Regions from separate parts of the Homo sapiens genome. Here all the other regions are linked to region 4. The links are contacts of gene promoters, found by promoter capture Hi-C in blood cells and fetal thymus (Javierre and others, 2016). All regions are on one chromosome and are shown on one strand. The core of a region is centred on a gene start or on the middle of the fragment in contact, and the rest is flanking DNA. Distances in the headings are between cores, read along the strand shown. Region 1 has its middle 19 kb from the start of MIR4426. Region 2 has its middle 4.9 kb from the start of MIR4426. Region 3 overlaps LOC107985241 (a long non-coding RNA gene). Region 4 holds the start of UCHL5 (ubiquitin C-terminal hydrolase L5). Region 5 overlaps LOC105371664 (a long non-coding RNA gene). Region 6 overlaps LOC105371664 (a long non-coding RNA gene). Region 7 overlaps RGS13 (regulator of G protein signaling 13).

The links. The method cuts DNA at HindIII sites, captures the fragments that hold promoters and counts their contacts. A CHiCAGO score of 5 or more calls a contact.
Region 1: a fragment that was not itself captured here is called in contact with the fragment with the promoter of UCHL5 in region 4 in 2 of 17 cell types (neutrophils and monocytes); the score reaches 9.0 in neutrophils.
Region 2: a contact is called between a fragment that was not itself captured here and the fragment with the promoter of UCHL5 in region 4, in 1 of 17 cell types (neutrophils). The highest score is 7.9, in neutrophils.
Region 3: a contact is called between a fragment that was not itself captured here and the fragment with the promoter of UCHL5 in region 4, in 2 of 17 cell types (naive B cells and total B cells). The highest score is 6.2, in naive B cells.
Region 5: a fragment that was not itself captured here is called in contact with the fragment with the promoter of UCHL5 in region 4 in 2 of 17 cell types (neutrophils and M1 macrophages); the score reaches 6.1 in neutrophils.
Region 6: a contact is called between a fragment that was not itself captured here and the fragment with the promoter of UCHL5 in region 4, in 3 of 17 cell types (neutrophils, activated CD4 T cells and M2 macrophages). The highest score is 11.1, in neutrophils.
Region 7: a fragment that was not itself captured here is called in contact with the fragment with the promoter of UCHL5 in region 4 in 1 of 17 cell types (neutrophils); the score reaches 7.7 in neutrophils.

What each region holds. Positions count from the first base shown.
Region 1 is chr1:192,696,198-192,698,897 of GRCh38, forward strand. No RefSeq gene overlaps it. Among named protein-coding and RNA genes, the nearest start is that of MIR4426, 19 kb to the right of the region's middle. The HindIII fragment of the contact is 1,946 bases long and covers 369-2,314 here.
Region 2 is chr1:192,719,830-192,722,529 of GRCh38, forward strand. No RefSeq gene overlaps it. Among named protein-coding and RNA genes, the nearest start is that of MIR4426, 4.9 kb to the left of the region's middle. The HindIII fragment of the contact is 1,661 bases long and covers 532-2,192 here.
Region 3 is chr1:192,629,728-192,632,427 of GRCh38, forward strand. All of the region lies in intron 1 of LOC107985241 (a long non-coding RNA gene), which reads left to right. Among named protein-coding and RNA genes, the nearest start is that of RGS13, 5.1 kb to the right of the region's middle. The HindIII fragment of the contact is 364 bases long and covers 1,149-1,512 here.
Region 4 is chr1:193,058,042-193,060,741 of GRCh38, forward strand. It overlaps UCHL5 (ubiquitin C-terminal hydrolase L5), which reads right to left and starts at 1,319. Exons shown (of 11, transcript NM_001199261.3): 1 at 1,144-1,319. The coding sequence starts at 1,219. RO60 (Ro60, Y RNA binding protein) reads left to right here and starts at 1,571. Exons shown (of 9, transcript NM_001173524.2): 1 at 1,571-1,735. RefSeq lists enhancers at 671-980, 1,005-1,737, 1,141-1,670, 1,738-2,470. The HindIII fragment of the contact is 5,498 bases long and covers 1-2,700 here.
Region 5 is chr1:192,584,050-192,586,749 of GRCh38, forward strand. All of the region lies in intron 3 of LOC105371664 (a long non-coding RNA gene), which reads right to left. Among named protein-coding and RNA genes, the nearest start is that of RGS1, 9.6 kb to the left of the region's middle. The HindIII fragment of the contact is 4,084 bases long and covers 1-2,700 here.
Region 6 is chr1:192,566,957-192,569,656 of GRCh38, forward strand. LOC105371664 (a long non-coding RNA gene) reads right to left here. Exons shown (of 5, transcript XR_002958418.2): 4 at 191-260. Among named protein-coding and RNA genes, the nearest start is that of RGS1, 7.5 kb to the right of the region's middle. The HindIII fragment of the contact is 1,701 bases long and covers 455-2,155 here.
Region 7 is chr1:192,648,300-192,650,999 of GRCh38, forward strand. All of the region lies in intron 5 of RGS13 (regulator of G protein signaling 13), which reads left to right. Among named protein-coding and RNA genes, the nearest start is that of RGS13, 14 kb to the left of the region's middle. The HindIII fragment of the contact is 9,764 bases long and covers 1-2,700 here.

The DNA of each region.
Region 1 (2,700 bases), core at 92-2,591, 360 kb before region 4:
GCTGTAACCAATGGTTAGAAGAAGATGTATCCTGTGGGTCTTCTCTCCCACAGCCTGGCCACTCAGAATACACCAATGTGAAAGCAAGACTCAGAGCTGACTCTGCTACTTATGCAAATAGTCACTTTACCCCTAAATTGCCATACCACCAGTTCTTTAAGCTCCATGAAGGCTCATCTCTCTTAGCTTTTCAGGTGTCCCAACAGTGGTTGCTCTGGTTTGAATGTTTGCGCCCCACAAAATTCATATGTTGAAATCCTAACCCCTAAGGTGATGGCATTAGGAAGTGGGGCCTTTTGGGAGTCAGTAAGGCCTTAGGCAAAGCCCTCATAGGTGAGATTGGTGCTTATATAAAAGAGACCCCAGAAAGCTTCCTTGCTCCTCCCACCACGTGAGGACACAGGATGAAGGCACCATCCGTGAGAAACGGGGCCCTCACCAGATGCCAAATCTGTCAGCACCTTGATCTTGTACCACTCAGACTCCAGAACTGTGAGAAATAAGTTCTGTTCTTTATAAGCTACCCAATTTACAGTATTTTCGTCTAATATACTTTAATTGAATGGACTAAGATAGTGGCCTGTGTGGAAAATTCACCTGAAGCAGATTCTAATAGAGGAATTTAACTATCCTTCTGTTCAGGGTTTCACAACAATATCCTCTGATAAACAACAGAACACAGGAAAGATTCAGAATTCTAACCTATGATGCCTTTCCAAAGGATGTAATTTCTTGGGCTTACTAGATTGCTCTGTCTTGTTTAAGCACCAGTTCCCAAGCCCATACAAATTTCTAGCCTGATCAGCCCTCATTTCACAGATTAAAAGTAATATCTAACACCCATTATACTAATTAATAAGGCAACTGATATTAATTAAAATAAAGACATTGAAACCTTCTGAATGCCCAGGCCTCTGGTCTTTGGGCCTCTACTTAGAAATTTTCATGTACTAACTAATCATCCCTGGAGTGCATATTCCTGATTAAGGTACCTAACATGTTAACTAACGGACTTTAAAGTATAGATTAAGTTGACTACCACCTTCTATGCTGGGTGTTTTAATAGTAAACTGCAGGCCAGGCACGGTGGCTCACACCTGTAATGCCGGCACTCTGGGAAACTGAGGCGGGTAGTTTTCTTGAACTTAAGAGTTCAAGACCAGCCTGGGCAACATAGCAAAAACCCTGTCTCTACAAAAAATCCAAAAATTACCCAGGCACAGTGGCTCACGCCTGTAGTCCCAGCATTTTGGGAGGCTGAGGCAGGTGGATCACTTGAGGTCAGGAGTTCAAGACCAGCCTGGCCAACATGGTGAAACTACGTCTCTACTAAAAATACAAAAAAAAAAAAAAAATTGGCCAAGTGTGGTGGCACGTGCCTGTAATCCCAGCTGCTTGGGAGGCTGAGGCAGGAGAGTCACTTGAACCCAGGAGGCGGAGGTTGCAGTGTGCTGAGATCGAGCCAAGGCACTCCAGCATGGGCGACAGAGCAAGACTTCATCTCAAAAAAAAAAAAAAAAATAGCTGGGCATGGTGGCATGAGCCTGTATTCCCAGCTACTTGGGCTGAAGAGGGGAGAATCACTTGAGCCAGGGAAGTTAATTAAGGTTGTGGTTAGCCAAGATCGTACCACTGTACTCCAGCCTGGGCAAAAGAGTGAGATCTGTCTCAAAAAACTCCAAAAACTGCAGAATATAATATCTAACTTTACCTCCCCCTATTTCCCAACACACACATTCATCTAGAGCAGAGTTTCTCAATCTGGGCACTACTGATCTTTTGGACTGGATAATCCTCTGTTGTGAAGGGATGACCTGTGCATTATAAGGTGTTAGCACACTGCTGGTGTCTATCCATGAGATGCCAGTAGCATCCCTCCCCAGTTGTGATAAGCAAAACGTCTACAGACATTGACAAGTATCACATGCTCTTAAAATCACCCCTTGTTGAACATTATTGCCCTACAGTGTGGCTGACCCCCTAAAGCCAACCCCACTTACCAGGATATTTTTCTTTCTTAATTTTACTTATAGTGGTCCCCAGTCTTAGAAGATACCTTCTCCACTGCGCTACTCAAATGTGACCCATGCTTTAAGACAAGACAGCACCAAGAATTTCAAAAAGCAAATGAAGCTCTCAGAAGTGATTTATTTGGACCACGTAAATGTGGGCTACAGATTTCTGTAGACCTCACAGCTCTAGGGTATTACACTTTCTCATTCTTCCTACTTATCTCATTTATGTTATCTGCCTGGCCCTATGAGAATTTACATTAATACTTAATAATAAGTTTTAATTCATAATAAGCCTAATAAGCTTCATAATAAGCCTAATAAGCTTCATAATAAGCCTAAATCATCCTTCCAAGAAATTGTCCACTGTGATGTCCATATTGACCTCTTCCTTTTCAGGAGAAGTTTTATGCTATGAAGAAAACTAAAAAAATTCAACACAACTCGAGTACTAAAATTTCTCACAACTTAATGGCTCCTGTTAAGAGAAGCAAAGTATTAAAACAGTGTACTAAAGTCAGCTGTTCTTTAAAATAGTCACAGAAATTATGTTATCAGACTGGCAAAAAAAAAAAAAAAAAAAATGCTCACCTGGGTCAATATGAGCCATCCTGCAATTTTTGAAAGACCAAAGACCACATAAAACAGAGCTTTTTTTTTTTTTGCTGTGTCACCCAGGCTGCAGTGC
Region 2 (2,700 bases), core at 112-2,611, 340 kb before region 4:
AACAACATATTTAAAAGATCATTCATCACGAGCAAGAGGGATTTATCCCAGGGATGCAAGGATGGTTCAACTTGTAAGAGCTCTCACAAAGTCAGTCTTTAAAGACTAAAACAAGTCTCTTCTTCTTCAAATGTACAGCCATCAATGTAAGGCAACAAAAAACATAAAAATCTAAGGAGATATAACACCATCAAAAGACTTCGGTGACCCTAAGTAAATGGAGATATGTAAACTATCTGACAAAAAATTTAAAATAATTGTTTTAGGGGCATTCAGAGAGGCTCAAAAAATACAGAGAAACAATTTCATGACATCAAAAAAAAAAAATGACCAAAATTAGAAATTTAGCAGAGAGATCAAAATTTTTTTAAAAAAAGCAATAATTCTGGAGCTAAAAATTATAAATAATGAACTAAAAAAATAGAAGGCATCAGTAGCGGAACTGATTAAGCTGGAAAAGAATCTGTAAACTAAAAGGCAATTTATTTGAAAATATGCAATCACAGAGAAAATATGAAAAGGAATGAAGAAAGCTTATAGGATTCATGGGACAGCATTAAAAGAGCAAATGTTTGAGTTATAAGAGTGCATGAAGAAGAGAAGGACAAAGGGGTAAAAAAATTATTTTATAAAAATAATTGCAGAAAATTTCCAAATTTGGAAAAAGTTATAAATATTCAGGTACATGAAGGTCAAAGTTCTCTAATCAGATTTAATCCAAACAAGATTACACCAAAATAATCAAACTGTTCAAAATCAGGACAATGAGAGGATACTGAAAGCACCAAGAGAAAGGAAGTAAAAACATATAAGGGGATAACAGTAAGGCTAGCAGTGGGTTTCTCAGCAGAGATGTTAAAGGCCAGGTGAGAGTGGGATGATATATTCAAAGTGCAAGGAAAAAACTGCCAACCAAGAATTTGGTGCCCAGCAAAACTGCCCTTCAGAAATGAAGAAATAAAGACTTTCTCAGGCTAAAAGAAGTTGAGGGAGTTTACCACCACCAAACCTGTCTTATAAGAAATGCTAAAAGGAATTCTTCAATCTGAAAGAAAAGAATGCCAATAAGTAACATGAAAACATATGAAAGTATAGAACTCACTAGAGAAAGTAAGTACACAATAAAATTCAGAATACTCTGATACTGTAATGAAAGTATATAAGTCACTTGTGTCTTTAGAATAAAGTATAAAAGACACAACTGTTAAAAATAATAATAGCTGCAATAATTTGTTAAGGGTAACAGTATAAAACTATGTAAATTGTAACATTGAAAAATTTAAATGTGGGGGTGGGGGTGGAGTAAAAGTATAGAGTTGTTTTTTTTTTAAACATAATCAGGTAAGTATTATCAGCTTCAAATAATCTCTTATAACAAGATGATTTTTAAGTCTCATGTTAACCACAAAGCAAAAAACCTATAGTAAATACACAAAATATAAAAAATAAGTAATAAGTGGCCGGGCGCGGTGGCTCATGCCTGTAATCCCAGCACTTTGGGAGGCTGAGGCAGGCAGATCACAAGGTCAGGAGATCGAGACCATCCTGGCTAACACGGTGAAACCTTGTCTCCACTAAAAATATACAAAAAATTAGCCAGGCGTGGTGGCAGGCGCCTGTATTCCCAGCTACTCAGGAGGCTGAGGCAGGAGAATGGCACAAACCCAGAAGGCAGAGCTTGCAGTGAGTTGAGATCACGCCGCTGCACTCCAGCCTGGGTGACGGAGCAAGACTCCATCTCAAAATAAAAAAAAAAAAAAAGTAATAATCAAGGGATCTGAGATAAAGAAAATTAAGTGTCCAGAAAATTAAACCATATTTTAATGTTACAATAGCCAGAAGAGAGAAAGTTCATATTTTTTAACAATAGTACCCTTTTCACAAAAGTGCACACAATATTTTTGTGAGTCAGATTTATGTTGTCTTGAGAATTTAAAGGAACATTTTGACCTAGAGTACATAATATCTTAAAACTACATCACAACTCAATTTTTAATACTTTTTATTAATCTTCTATAAAATGGTACATTTCTAAAATAATGACAATGTTTTAATTAATGGAAGGCTTTCAATATTAATATTTATTATGGTTTCCAATTAAATATTTTCAAATGCTTAATATTTTTATTTATTCTCTTTTTATAAAACTAACTTCTCGAGTTTCTATTATTCAATACTAGATTATATAATCAAGCTTGAAACTAATAATCATGTCAGCTTCCTGGAGTTTATTATAATTAATTTTTAAATACACTGTGCCAAATGTTAGAATTGTTTAACAGAGAAAGTAATGTAATAAAAATGCTGAACTAAATATCATCACTAATTCCAAATCAATAATGGAAAATAATTCCAAATGACCTATGAATAGTGTCACTTGTGATTAATATCTGGTTTTTCCCCTGATTTTTTTTATCATGCCCGTAAGGTAATAAGCCAGAAACCAGACAGCCTTCCCCAAAATATCACATGTTCCCCAAAACATGGGAAGAAGTTCTTTGTTACGGACTAAAAGTTGACCCATCTTTGGTATTTACCCTTATATTGCTTCATTTTTCATCTGTTATAGTAGATCAAGTCAAGTCCGATTATGAAGCCTTCATTTATCTAAAAGTTCCACTGATTATTTGCTGCTGTACATGTGACTGAAGAACACATTTACTTAATATCAAAACTTTCCCTCTGTTTCTCATGTCAGAA
Region 3 (2,700 bases), core at 81-2,580, 430 kb before region 4:
GTTTAATTTCCCATTATCTAGGCCCTATAAAACATCTGTAGGCTAAGAGCAGCTATGCCAATTAGCAGAAGTGACAGCCTGAGTCAATGAACTGCAGCCTAAAAATAAAGCCACATGGTCCCTTTGGTCCCTTTGGAACACTGCTTGACTTGGAACAGATCTAAGTGGAATATTCCTTAGTTACCACTGTTTCACAATAGTTTTTTGACCCCTTTTTCTTAGGCATGTTTGATTTTCCGGTGTATTTCTAAACATGCACATAAGCAATTTAAATGTTTCCCCGGGCCTTGGCAGAAAGTGAAAATAAAATAATAAGAAATATATTATTAAGTACATTATTATTTATGTTATCAGATAAAACAAGTGTTTTTGAGCTGCTGGAGTTCTTTGTTTAGAAAAGCTTGGGTGTTTTTTTAATTATCATCAAATTCAATATGCATAAAATTCATAAAGCAAATTCATAAAATGTATAAAGCCAATGTATTTTGCTTTATGTCATGTACTTGAATACTGGGCATAAACTGAATTTCAGACATTTAAACTAGAAGAATTAACTAATGGAATTCCTATAGAATTCTTTTGTAAAATAAATCATTTTCAATGATAATAATCATTCTTTAATCTATATTTTCTTTCAGATATTTCATTATAAGAAGGCAGCATATATCGTGTGTCTTTAAAGAATGATGCTCAAATTGCATCATTTGAGGCAGAAAAATTAGATTCAGAAGCATAATATTCCATTTACTCAACTCAAATAGAAACCATGTTAATACCACTTAAGAGAAAAGACCAGAGTCTCAACATGGAATAAATTACAGTGAATAAAATAAAGCAAGAGTAGGGGAGAATTCGTGTAACCACAGCATCTTGTCACATGTTTTTCTAGTAGAGAAAGAAGAAGAGGAGATAGATACAAAGACACAAGGGCCTAAAAACTTTAGGCTGTTACCTAAACTGAGATAAGAATGTAAGATATACACAATTATCTGATTTTCAACCAGAAGTAAGCCAGAAAGGGAATGAGGACCTTAAAGTACACAGAACGCAGGAGTTAGGCAGCCTGAGTTTTTGACTCAGCTATATCTCAGCTACTGTGTGGCTCAGGGCAACGCACAAGAGATCAATTTCTTTCTTCATTACATGAAAGCTTTGAACTAGATTATCTAAATTTCCTTTAACCTCTAAATGTCCGTGATGGAACTTCTGCTTTAAAATGGGGTTGGAGAAGCAGTCTCTGAAACAAGCTCTTCCACTTCCTACACAGACAACCAACATTTAAATATAAAAATACCTTCCTTATTAGAAAAGTTGCCTTCACAAAGCTCTTTGGCAAAGGTTATAAGGAAAGCAAACAATCGATACAAATTTCACATTTCTATTTACTTTCTGCCTACTCACTTGGAAAAGCAATAAGATGAAATAAATTCCCACTGATCTGGGGGAAAATATAACTAGAATGCCATTTTTCCTAAGTTCCTTTGTTTGGAAGTTTTTAAAAGAGTTAAAACAAGCTTCACGGTTTATTAGATATTATTTTCTGTAGTGTTTGAAAATGTTATGGGGTAAAAAAAGGGCATGTGTTTTTAATGCCCTGAACATTTTCTTTTTCAAACAAAAGTCATCCTTCTTGTGTCTCGGTCCCCGTTGTTCTTCTTCCCATTCTGCCCCTTTGCTCAGCTTCATCTATAAAAATCATTTGTGTAATCTCTATTGGCCCCACGCTGTACATTCAGGATGCCTTATGTAGTTCCAGGCCTCCAGGATTATATTTCTTATAACACCAATCACTCTTCATTTTCCTTTGGATGTTATTTTCTTTGGGCAAAATTACTTTTCCTTTGTGTAAAAATGTTTTAAGAAAATATTTTCCATATCTGCAAAAAGCATGTAGTTGATGCACTAGTTTTACAGTTCTTAAAGCAACTCCTCAAATATTCAGACTTGAGGGGGAATTAAACAACACTTTTTGTATGGAGGAAAGCATACCAAAGTAGGTTTCTGAAGCTTCTGGGATTGCAATTTTTAAAATTCTTTGCCTTTTCTACAAAACTAAACTTGTTTTATCTAATCTTATTTGCATTATCATATCTTTCAGAGGTTTTAAGATATAGTGTCATAATCCTAAAGAAAAACATTTGCCTTGTATTTTATTCTAGTTCCTTGTTTGACTAAGTCACAAGGACACCATTGTTTAAATTTGCATGCCTCATAAAAATATATATTTGTGTAAATTATACTTACAAAGCATCTCCAGATATATCTCATTAACCACTACACAAATTATAGGTTACAAAAAGGTTACAGTCAGAGAGGCAGAACTACTTCTTAGGAAAGTATGAGATATGGGAAGCTTGTACAATATAATCCTTCCCAAACTTCACCCTATAATTTTTATCTAAGTGAAAATTGGTTAAAATGAACATTAGGGTAGTTTTTAGCTTGGATAAATCCTGTTGGGAAAAAAAAACTATATCCATCTATTCTTTGAATATTTATTGAGCATCTACTACATCAGTCTGAATGCTATGTCCACATATGCATTTGAAGCATGAATGAGAAAAGTGGGAGACTCCTTTGGTAAAGCAGGGAGAAGGAATGCAGGCTAATTCTGAGCTCTGCGCTCTTTTAGTCTCTCCTATCAGCTGACTGAGGTACCTATTTCTTTTAAAATGTTCCCTGCCTCTGATTCACTACCTA
Region 4 (2,700 bases), core at 69-2,568:
CATGGTGAAACCCTGTCTCTACTAAAAAAAAAAAAATTAGCCGGGCATGGTGGCGCGTGCCTGTAATCCCAGCTACTCGGGAGGCTGAAGTAGGAGATTCGCTTGACCCCGAGAGATGGAGGTTGCAGTGGGCCAAGATCGCGCCACTGCACTCCAGCCTGGGCGACAGAGCGAGACTCTGTCTCAAACAAAAAAAAGAAAATTTCCCAATCCTTACCACTGTGCCTGAGATATAGAAGATGAACAACATATGCTTGATAAATGACATTCCAAATATTAAGCTGTGTACAACAGGCAATATCTACATCAACGTTTAATTGTTAATCCCGCGTAAAAGTTTTAACATCGTAGAGTCAATAACACTTGGGAAATAGATAAAAACGTACTGTCCAAAGAAGAGACTAAGAACAAGATAAATAGGGAAGGATAAAAAGTAAAATGTGTTGATTATTTAGGACGAAAGGCACTAAATACAGCCAGAGAGAAACTGTGAGGAAAGCATGTGGCCTCTAGTCTAGAACACTAGCTCAAGAAAACTCACTTCACCGGAAGCCAGAAATGAGCAGAGAGCGGAACCAGTGAAGTGGCCTTTCAGGCCCACGCAGTCAGCGTGTGTGGACGTCCCGAAGAGCTATTCACACATTCAAGGCGTTCTGCTTTGAATAACCAGAATCTCGAGTTCCTGGGCGGCTTGAGCCGCAGACACCTCACCCTTGAGAAGGCGCACCCTAGGGTGGCTTCTGCAGGACTAATGGCCTGAGCAATGCACTTGACCTCACCAGCCCGGGATAAGGTGCGCGCCGCAGAGAAGGGGCAGTGCAAAGGGCAATACGTGCTTAAGAGCTTGGGGAGCGAGGGCCCTCAAGTCAATTACAGGATTTGGGTGCCAGGTCCTGAGGATGCAGCAGGCACAAGACTGACACGATCCTTGCCCTCGTGGTGTGGCTCTACAAATTACTGTGGAAACGCGACTGTCTCGAGCTGAGGAGAGGGCAGAACATCTACATTTCCCCCACCCGGACTCCAGGTTCCTGAAGTCACCTCTCCAGACGCGGGGCGGCGGTGGCCGCAGGGAACCACTCCATGCCCAGCTTGGGCCTCCTCCCGTGACCCCAGGCCCAGGACGGTCCCCTTGGTTCTCACCGAATCCTTTAATGAGCTCGGTGAAGACCCCGGGGTCGCTTTCCATGAGGCACCACTCCCCGGCATTGCCCGTCATGGCCCTGGCCACACACCGCCCCGATCCACCTCTCGCTCTCAGCTGCCCCCCGCACCAGCTGCCGCCGGCCACAGATCTCAGCAAACCCGCCGCCGAGCTCGTCAACCACACGTCACCCCGCCTACTTCCCGACAGCCTCCGGGCGCCGTCACCTGCAGCGCGACTGAGCGCGGGAGGACGCTCTAGCCACCCTAGAGACATCGAAACTCTTCCCAGGCCTTGCAGCACCCGTAGCGGATTCGGAAGGGCTGGGGCCTGAGAAGAAAGGGCGGTGATTCACAGCGCCGAGGAGGCAACATCCGGGATCCTCGCCCCTCTGGGGCGGAGGCGGGGCAAAAGAAGAGGGGCAGGACTCGTTCCCGGGAACCGAACCTGGAATCCCCGGCGGCAGTGGGGCTGTTGCTGTTGCTGTGGCTGTCGCTGCCCGTCAGGCTGCCTTCTTTTGTCGTTTCCCAGCGCTGCGCAGGACTTCTCCTGGCGGCGCTGCGGATCCAGGGGGTCGGCTGCCAGGTACAGGTGAGGACATTGCGGGAGGCCGGCTGGGAGCCTTTTGTGCGGCCCCAGGGACGCGCAAATTCTGACCAGTCCTCCATGTCTCTCACCCGCATCCCAGGGGTTGAGGCTGGGCAAACGCCGCGAAACTATCGCTCTTCCCCGTCCCGCTTCCGCGCCTGTCCACCCTGGGTAACGGAACCAGCATCGCGGTAGGGACATCCTCGCTAGGCCCGGCCGGACCATTCCTCAGGGTGGGCCCTTTCCGAAGCCGGGACCGCTCCTGCTTGTCGGCATCGCTCCCCACAGGCCGACGTCGAGAGGGCCTGCTTTACTCCTCCTCTTTCTCCTCCTTCTCCCGCGGCTTCTGCGCGGAGAGGCGTCGCCCGGGATCTGGGTTTTGGAAGAAGGATCTTTGTGGGAAGACAGGGTGAATTTATCACAGAGGAATAACGAGGGAGAGGAGAAAGGTTTGTCCATGGGGCTGCTAGACTAGTGGAAGGGGATGCGGTGCGTCAAGGGAAAATTAGGTTGAAAACAAATGTCGTGTATTAATCTAAAAACATTTGGAATGGTTCTAAAACTGGATGATGAGTTAAACCAAATATTTACTAAATATTTACTAAATTGCCCTCATTCAGCAGGCTCTTATAGAATACTATAGTGTTAAGATTAAAGTTTTTAAGAGTATATTGAAGTCGTTAAGTGTATATTTACTCCTTAAAAGCTACATATTCCAAGAAAGACCTTTGGCTTCCAGAAAAAAAAAATGTTTTAGTGGGTAAAACTCTGACTCCTTCCTTCTCAAATAGGTGACTTGTGCCCTGGAGTTAGGGAGCCTTGTGCTACAGATTATGTGAAGCCATGAAATAAACGTGGTAAATTTTATTGAGGGAAGCAACAGAGCAGCTTTTGTATTAAAAGGAGCCTGAGTACGCTATGGGGTAGAAGCCAAAATTTGTATGAAGTGTTGGTTTAAAAAAAATTTT
Region 5 (2,700 bases), core at 179-2,678, 470 kb before region 4:
CAACAATAGTGATTTATTTAGTTTGGCTGGAATATATAGGGAAAGAGAAAGTATAAGAGGGAAAGCTAAAAAGGTAGTTTAGAGAAGATTCAGAGAGAAAATATAGTCTACTCCGAAAAGAGTGAATTTTTATCTTTTACAGGATAGGTAACCACTGACGTTTTAAGCAAAAGAATAAAGTCTTAATTGTTTCTGAATGTCTACTATGGGGCAGGCACTGTGCTGGATACATGTGTTATCTGTTTAATCCACTTTAAACTTCTTTGAGGTGAGTATTGTTAGGCTCATTTTATTGATCCACAAATGCAGAAACAAGTGGAAAAAAGTATCTAACAACATATAACTAGTGAATGGCAGATCTAAGATTTGAACCTAGGTTTGTATCTTTCCAAAGACTCCCCATTATGTCATGATTCTTCATGGAAGGGAGATGATTTATTTGTGTTTTAAAAAGGGTAATTCTAGATTAACTATGAAAGACACTTGCAAAAGAAGACATAATTGAGGAAGGAAACCCAAATATGAGGCTGGTTTTGTAGCCCAGCAAATGAGAATCTGAGCCTGAAATAGGGCAGTAATCAAGGCAATGGGAAGGACAGGGCGAATAGGCAATACTTGGTGAGCAATTTGCTTCGACGAATAATTAATAGAGAGAATTTAGGATACATTTGAGGTGATTCGGCTGGGCTCCCAAAATTACAGCAATGTCCTCTGCTCTAACATACTGTCGATGAGGTCCTTCCATTACAAATGCTCATTAAACAATGTGGAAATAGAATGTGGTAGCACTGGAGGAAGATTAAGGCACACACTTTCAAGAGTTTCCACATGCAAAATAAATTATGCAGTATTTTCAGTAGACAATGGTTTATTCCAATTACCATGTATATGAAACATTCCACATGTTTTCTCTCAAAGCTCACTTTTAACTTGGACAAAAGCAGAGGCTTGCAAGACACAATCCAGGCTGAGAACAAAAAACAAGGATCAAGAAACTCAAAAGAATTGCAGCAAGTAATAGCTGTAAGGTCAAAGCACCTTTTACAGACAGGAAACAAAACCAAAATCTAGGATTCAGGCCAAGAGATGGGCAAAAAAAAAAAAAAAAAAAAAAAAACTGTCAAACACAAACAAAACCATCATGGTGACCCACAGCAGTAGACAGCGTGGAGGCCTGTGTTGAAATCAACAGTGGGGCAGGAATTCTCCCTCCTCCTGTGGAAAGTGGGTCTATTTGACTGATGGGATGATGGTAGTGCCCACTTCTTGTCAATAGAGAGAAAAATAGGACTGAAGACTTAAGGTAGCCAGTCACTCTTTCGGCACATTTTTCAGTTCAATCATCTTTGCCTTAACTCCTCAAAATGAGTGAAGATTTTTTTATCCTTTATTTTTACATAGAGAAAAGGAATCAGAATGATGTAAATTTCAGATATTATCCCATCCCCCTAAACTATGTACTGCTATTCTAGTCAAACCTAGAAAGTGAAAAATTCAGTAGGCTTGGTTTAAGTCAGTAAGATCAACACATTCTGCTCTGGTTTCATCTTTTATCCCCTGCCTTGTAACCCTCAGCATGAATTAGTGATAAAAACAGATTGTACTCGAAGTCTAGTGCTTTTTTCTTAAATCTGTCAGTTAATGAGACAAATGACCCACTATGAAGAAGTAATACGTAGAACATGTTCCCATAGGAAGAGCTAAATAAGATACTTCCTATAATGTTTCTTTGGCATAATTTTGACTAGATTGATTACAATTTATACTTTCTATGGGGGTAGTAAGAAGTGCTAAAGTAGTCTGGAAAAGAGTCTAATTATTAATTGATAAATTAACATATTTATCAGTAATGACACCTGCTATGTGCCATAAGCCTCACTAGGTGCTAGACCCACTGAAATGATAAATAATAAAGCAAAAATAAGTTCACTACGCTCTTGGGAAGAAGGAGGCAAATGGATTATAGTAAAATAGACTATAAGCATTATAAAAGAGGTATAAAGGAGAGACAAATAAGATTGTCTGATAGATGATCTGCCTAGGGGTTCTCTTCAGATCCCTAGGAAAAAGTCAAATGGGACTGGTGGCTCTTCCTCCCTATAGTGGGAGACACTTTGCATATCAGCACTGTATGCAACCTCCCTGGGCATCAAGTCACATCAAGTTTTTCTCCTCTTGCAAGCCCTCTCTCTGCTGTCACCAAATCAGCTGGGTGCTGTCTATTTGCTTCCAAAGATCCTATTTAAAAAAACAAGGGGAGGTACTGGGGAGCAGTGAGGGCAAGCTACACCTGCCTCCTCATGGGATGCTGTAAAGCTGAAGAACCATGAACATCCTGCCCCTTCTCCTTCTGCTCCTGTGGAATTCTTGGGGTTTATCTCAGCCTTCCCTTGACAAACAGGAAAAATGTGTTATGAGAGCTCAGAGGAGAGAGTAGTTTGTTCTGTCCTGAAGGAAGTTTATGGCTTCAGAGAAGTAAGAGGTACACAACACAGTGGATTGAATTCAAAGTATGCCAAATTATTTTGTGAACTTCTTGAACATTGGATGAATTGCATTCTCTGTAACTCACAAATAAATATAAACTCTGGTATTATTGGGGCCCAGAAGAGCTGGAATAAGTCAGTCCTACTAATTACTAATATTACTTTGCTCACATCCATATATTTCTACTTTAGCTATAGTTATTGTCCCAAAATT
Region 6 (2,700 bases), core at 55-2,554, 490 kb before region 4:
ACACAAAATAGGCCTCTTAATATTTCTATACACTGTTTTTGGTATGTTAAGATCTTCCTGTTGCAACTAAGAGCCTGGTCTTAAGAGAACCAATATGGGGATAAGCCACAAAGTCACAAATAAAACATCAACTTCAGATGAAATAGAACTTAAAACGTTGCAGTGACTACAAAGAGAAGACAAAAGTTACCTGATCTTCACGAAGAAAATAACAGTTTATAGCAGTTCATAAATTTATATTTTCTGATCTTCCATAGCATCTGAAACAAAACATAAAACAAGATTATGAGTTTGTTCTGTCTTTGAGTTCCTACCAAATATATTGCCCTGGTTTTCTGTTTTCATAACACAATAAAAAAAATAGGCAAGACAAAACACACAGGAGGAAAAAACATGGGTAAGAAGAGATTGTTTACACTTCAGGATTCTGCTGCCTTTAGAAGTGCAAAATATAAGCTTCACAAGTTGCTGACAGTCATGTTTCCCCAATTTGTAGCTGACTCTGGTCTATAGCAAATTCACAATTTACAAGCATTCTAAGTCCCCTACCCCCTAGTTCAGTCTTAGCTGATCTTTGAGGGGTTAGTTGTTCAACATTTCCTTTTATTACTTAAGGTACCCAAGGGTATTCCAGTTATCTTCCTATTTACCTAAGCTAATTAACAGTCAATGTGGGGCTGCTGACACTTGCAGCTATGGAAATCCTATCTAAAACAACAGACAACTCAATATTCCTCCACAACAGGAGGGAGCTGGATAAGATCTGCAGTTGGGAGGGATCAATATCCAGCTATAAGTACCTAAGAAAAAGCAGGAAAATTAAATTGAAGTTGGAAGGAATAGTCTGTGACATTAACATCTGAACATACATTTATACATTTGATTAACATATTAATTTACAGAAATCAACTAACTAAATAAAAAAGGAAATCCAAGACAAGTAAATATTGATAGGGAAAGAAGCAATCTGGAAGACTGGCCCAGTGAATGCAGAGTTGCAGTGGTAAGAGTAGCCCTGCATTTGGAACAGGTGGATTGCCAAATTTACTAAATTTTAGGAAGAAGTCTAGGCAAAGAACTCTAACATCATAAGAAAAATGGAAAACATCCTAGCTATGGCAAATTCTGTCTAAATCTTAATTTCTCTGGGGCTAGTTTTGATTGGTATAGAATTTCAAAAGGAGATCTTCCCATGCCACTACCATAGCTGCAAGTTGCTGATGATCGCCTTTGACTTCTACACAAAGAAAACTGAAAAGAAGTTAGCTGATTTGATCAAACTCACACAGCAGGAAAAGGTATAGCTGTGAGAATTGGCTCACAGTCTTTTGAAATGTGAGATTTCAAAGCAGCAAGATGAACATGTCACTGGGATTCAACAGAATCAAAGCCTTTCATTTATTTTTTAAAATAGAATACAAATAAGATGGCAGACAAGGCTTAATAAAAAAAAAAAAAACAGAACAGACACAGAAAACAGTGGAACACCACAGACCACTTGTACTCACAATAATAGTAGTATACTGCTAAGCATGGACACTATCTGTTGACTTAGAGCTACTTTCTCAAGTAGGAAGATTATTACTACAAACAAATGTCCGGTAAGTCTGACACCAATATTTAGTAAAATAATAATAATAAAATATATAGGTATATATATTATATACACATATTATATAAATGTATACACTTTATATATATAGATATATGTAAATAGACATAAAAGCAAAGCATTAGAAAGGACATGAAGAAAGTGGAGTTAATGTGTTTGTCAGCAATAACTGGCATGGTTTTGGAAAGAACAGAACATGTCAGGAAATCTTGAGAGATTTTTCTAAGAAAATTATATAATTAATGAGGAAAAGCAAAGCAAATAAGTCTCTATTGTTAGCCACCTCGATGTTTAGTAAGAACAAAAGCAAATGAAATCACTGGAATAGTGTTATTAGAAACTTGGAAAGTTAACAGTCATTTATTGAAGTTGCTCTCTAATATTTAAAACATACCTCTGTATTAGGCCATTCTTGCATTGCTATAAAGAAATACCTGGTACTAAGTAATTTATTTTTTTAAAAAAGAAATTTAATTGGCTCATGGTTCTGCAGGCTATACAGGAAGCATAGCACTGGCATCTGCTTCTGGATAGGTCTCAGGAAGCTTCCAATCATGGCAGGAGGTGACAGGGGAGCAAGTGTCTCACATGGTGCCAGCAGGAGCAAGAGAGAGAGGGTTGTGGGGAGGGAGGTGCCACACTCTTTTAAACAACCAGATCTTGAGAGAACTCACTCACCATCATGAAGATCCTCCCCCATGAGCCAATCACCTCCTACCAGGTCCCACCTCCAACACTGGAGATTACAATACAACAAGAGATTTAGAGGGGACACATATCCAAACTATATCAATTCTGCCCCTTGCCCTCAAGCCTCAGTTTCTTCTCACACTGCAAAATACAAGTGTCCCTTCCCAACAGTCCCCCAAAGTCTTAAGACATTTCAGCATTAACTCAGAAATTCAAAGTCCAAAGTCTCATCCGAGACAAGGCAAGTCCCTTCCCCTTATGAGCCTATAAAATAAAAAACAAGTTACTTACTTCTAAGACACAATGGGGGTACAAGCATTAGGTAAACATTCTCACTCCAAAAGGGAAAAATCAGCCGAAAAAGGGGGCTACATGCTCCATGAAAGTCCAGAACCCAG
Region 7 (2,700 bases), core at 76-2,575, 410 kb before region 4:
AACTCGCTGTTCTTGCTGCCTTCAAAAGTAAGAATAAATTTGAGTCTTGCTGTTCTAAAACTCCTCCCCAAAGTTTGTTTCAACTTTTTCAGTGTCTGATTTAAGTGGGACTATACATGGGTCTGAATATAGTTGTAGGTAAGTATCGACATTAACATGGTACAAATAAGAGATACCAGCAATGGATGTGACAGAGACAAAGTCATGGGCTCAGTGCAGGAAAAATAAAGGAGGACGTGCATTCAAAAGAATAGTCAATTGCGTTTGGGGTCAGAAAAGCTGGTCCGTTGTAGAAAATGATAAAACCAGAAGACAGGTACAGAAAAAAAATGTAGGGTGTAGACACAGAAAATTCTCTTGTTGAATTTGGTAGTTTTTTTTAAATGGAGTTGGTTCCCCTCAATGCTTGTTAATTTTTGCCTATAGAACCATCTTTTTATTTAAGATCCCATTTTAGCCTCTCTGTGAATGTTTTATCTGTTTAGAGCTATGGACTATGAAGGAGAGTTGGCTGTGCTACTTACATGCTTTAACTAGTGGGGTGTACCAGTGGCTATTCTGGGCAAGGTACCCCCTGTTCCTCATGGGGGTTGTCATAGTCCTGAGGCACTACCTGCTCTTTCTGACTCAAGACCCTCTTTAGTATGGACTCAGTTGTCACTGCCCAGCCCAGAGGGTAATGGCAGTAGGTGTAGACACTTGGCTACTCCTGCTGAAACACGTTAATCAACCATTCTGGCGCTTACTTCTGCTTCATCCCTAGGGCTGGATCTACCTCTACAGGCTTGGGTCACCACCTGAGCTCTCATATTTTGTAGCATGCCTTTCCAATGGGCATTTGGGGCCATAGTTTCTTTCTTTGATGCAATCGCCACTGGCTTTCACTTTTCAGGTATTCCTCATAGTTTATAATCCAATTTGCCAGCATGAATGTGAATTTTAAACAAATATATCTTCTGGGTCAGTGTTAGAACATTGAAATGTGATGAAGAGACAAAAGTGCATATTCAGTTAACTATATTGTAAATTTTTGTCCCAATCCTCTGTAATACACATTTTGCCACCTTGCTAGATTGATCTCTTTCTTGGAGTTTCATACTCTTCATCTACAAAATGGGAATAGTATCACTTATCCTTTCAGGTTTATTGTGCAGGTGAGATACAAAACATCTAGCTCAATGCCTAATATAGATTAAGCACACAATAATTGGTAGTTTCTTTTAATAGTAATAAAGTACATGTCTTTGAATATCATTCTTTTTTCTCTGCTGCCTACCAACAAGTCCAAAATCTTGGTATTTAGTACTCTCTACACCCTAACCCAAAACATTTTCTAAAATTTGTCTCTAGCTATGACCTGTCACATAACATGCCCTCCACCAATGTGGGTCACTTCATTTTCTACTTGTACATCTATGATTCTTCTCCTCCAGGCTTTTGTTCAAAGTCCTTTTCATCTCTAGTTACTCTGCTCATGTTTGAAAGTCAAATTCAAGTGCCACTTTCTCCAGAAAACTGCTTAGTAATTTCTCCTTTATCTTCTATTTTGTTAGTATTAACATTTATTCTGCTTTTAATTGTAGCCAGTTTGTGTATTGGGTTTTTTATATAGTGGCTTTCTCCCTAGATTATAAATTCCTTAAGAGCACAGCTTGCCTCTCATTTACCTTTCAAACCCCTGAGAGACTGAAAATGTGCTTTGTACCCAATGAGCATGCAATAAATGTTCCATGAATAAACACAAGAAAAATATTAGTGAGAAAAGTTCAAAACACCAAGCTATATTATGTAAGTTTCTGTGCCAGTCCTGGAAGCCTTATTAAAAAAATGAATAGGCTTAATTATTTGGCAAGGATTTCAAGTGGTCATCTGCCTTGCTAGAATCAGCAATTTAGAATTCTAGTGTCATGAGAATAAGCAAAGGCTCTAGCAAAGATGAGAATAGGAAAACATCATACTGCTCTTTATAAAAGCCAGCAAAAATAGGGTAAGAGCCTTTCCAGAAATCATATTACTATGAAGTTCACATAAAAATTCAACAATCACATAATAAGTAATAAAACGAATCATTCTATGGATGATCCAACCAGTAAGACAAAACTAAAAATACAAATATTAAATGTGCCAGAGAATAAAAATGTGTTTACATTAACCAAGGACATTAGTCAAATGCATGCTGTAGCTGAGATATGCAGATGCATATTTTACATAGATTAAAACATTATTTCTAAGGACAGTAGCTCAGACACACACATGAAAAAGAAATATATCAGCCTGGGTCTCAATAGATGAACCGAAATTGGTTTAGAGACGTTTTAGGGAGCCATTAAGTCATAGTCATCAAAATACAATTAAATTCAACATCTCAGTGGGAAAAGGGGATCCAAGAAAACCATCAGTTTGAGAACAGAAGTATGGCAAAATCCAAAAGTTAATTAGAAATTAAGAATGTTAGCAACTTAGATACCTTTTAGATAATGCTATTTAATGCTACATTATTTGCAAATAATTTTTTACATATGAAAGATTTTTTTTATATATTTAAATATCAAAGATTTTCTTGTTATTTATATGAAACATAATGTAACCAAATAGAACTAAAGTAGAGAGACTAGCTAGAAGGCTGCTACAATAATTCAGATAAAATTGGAACTCAGTAGGGAAGACAAGGCTGGGGGTAATTTGCATATAGATGCTAAC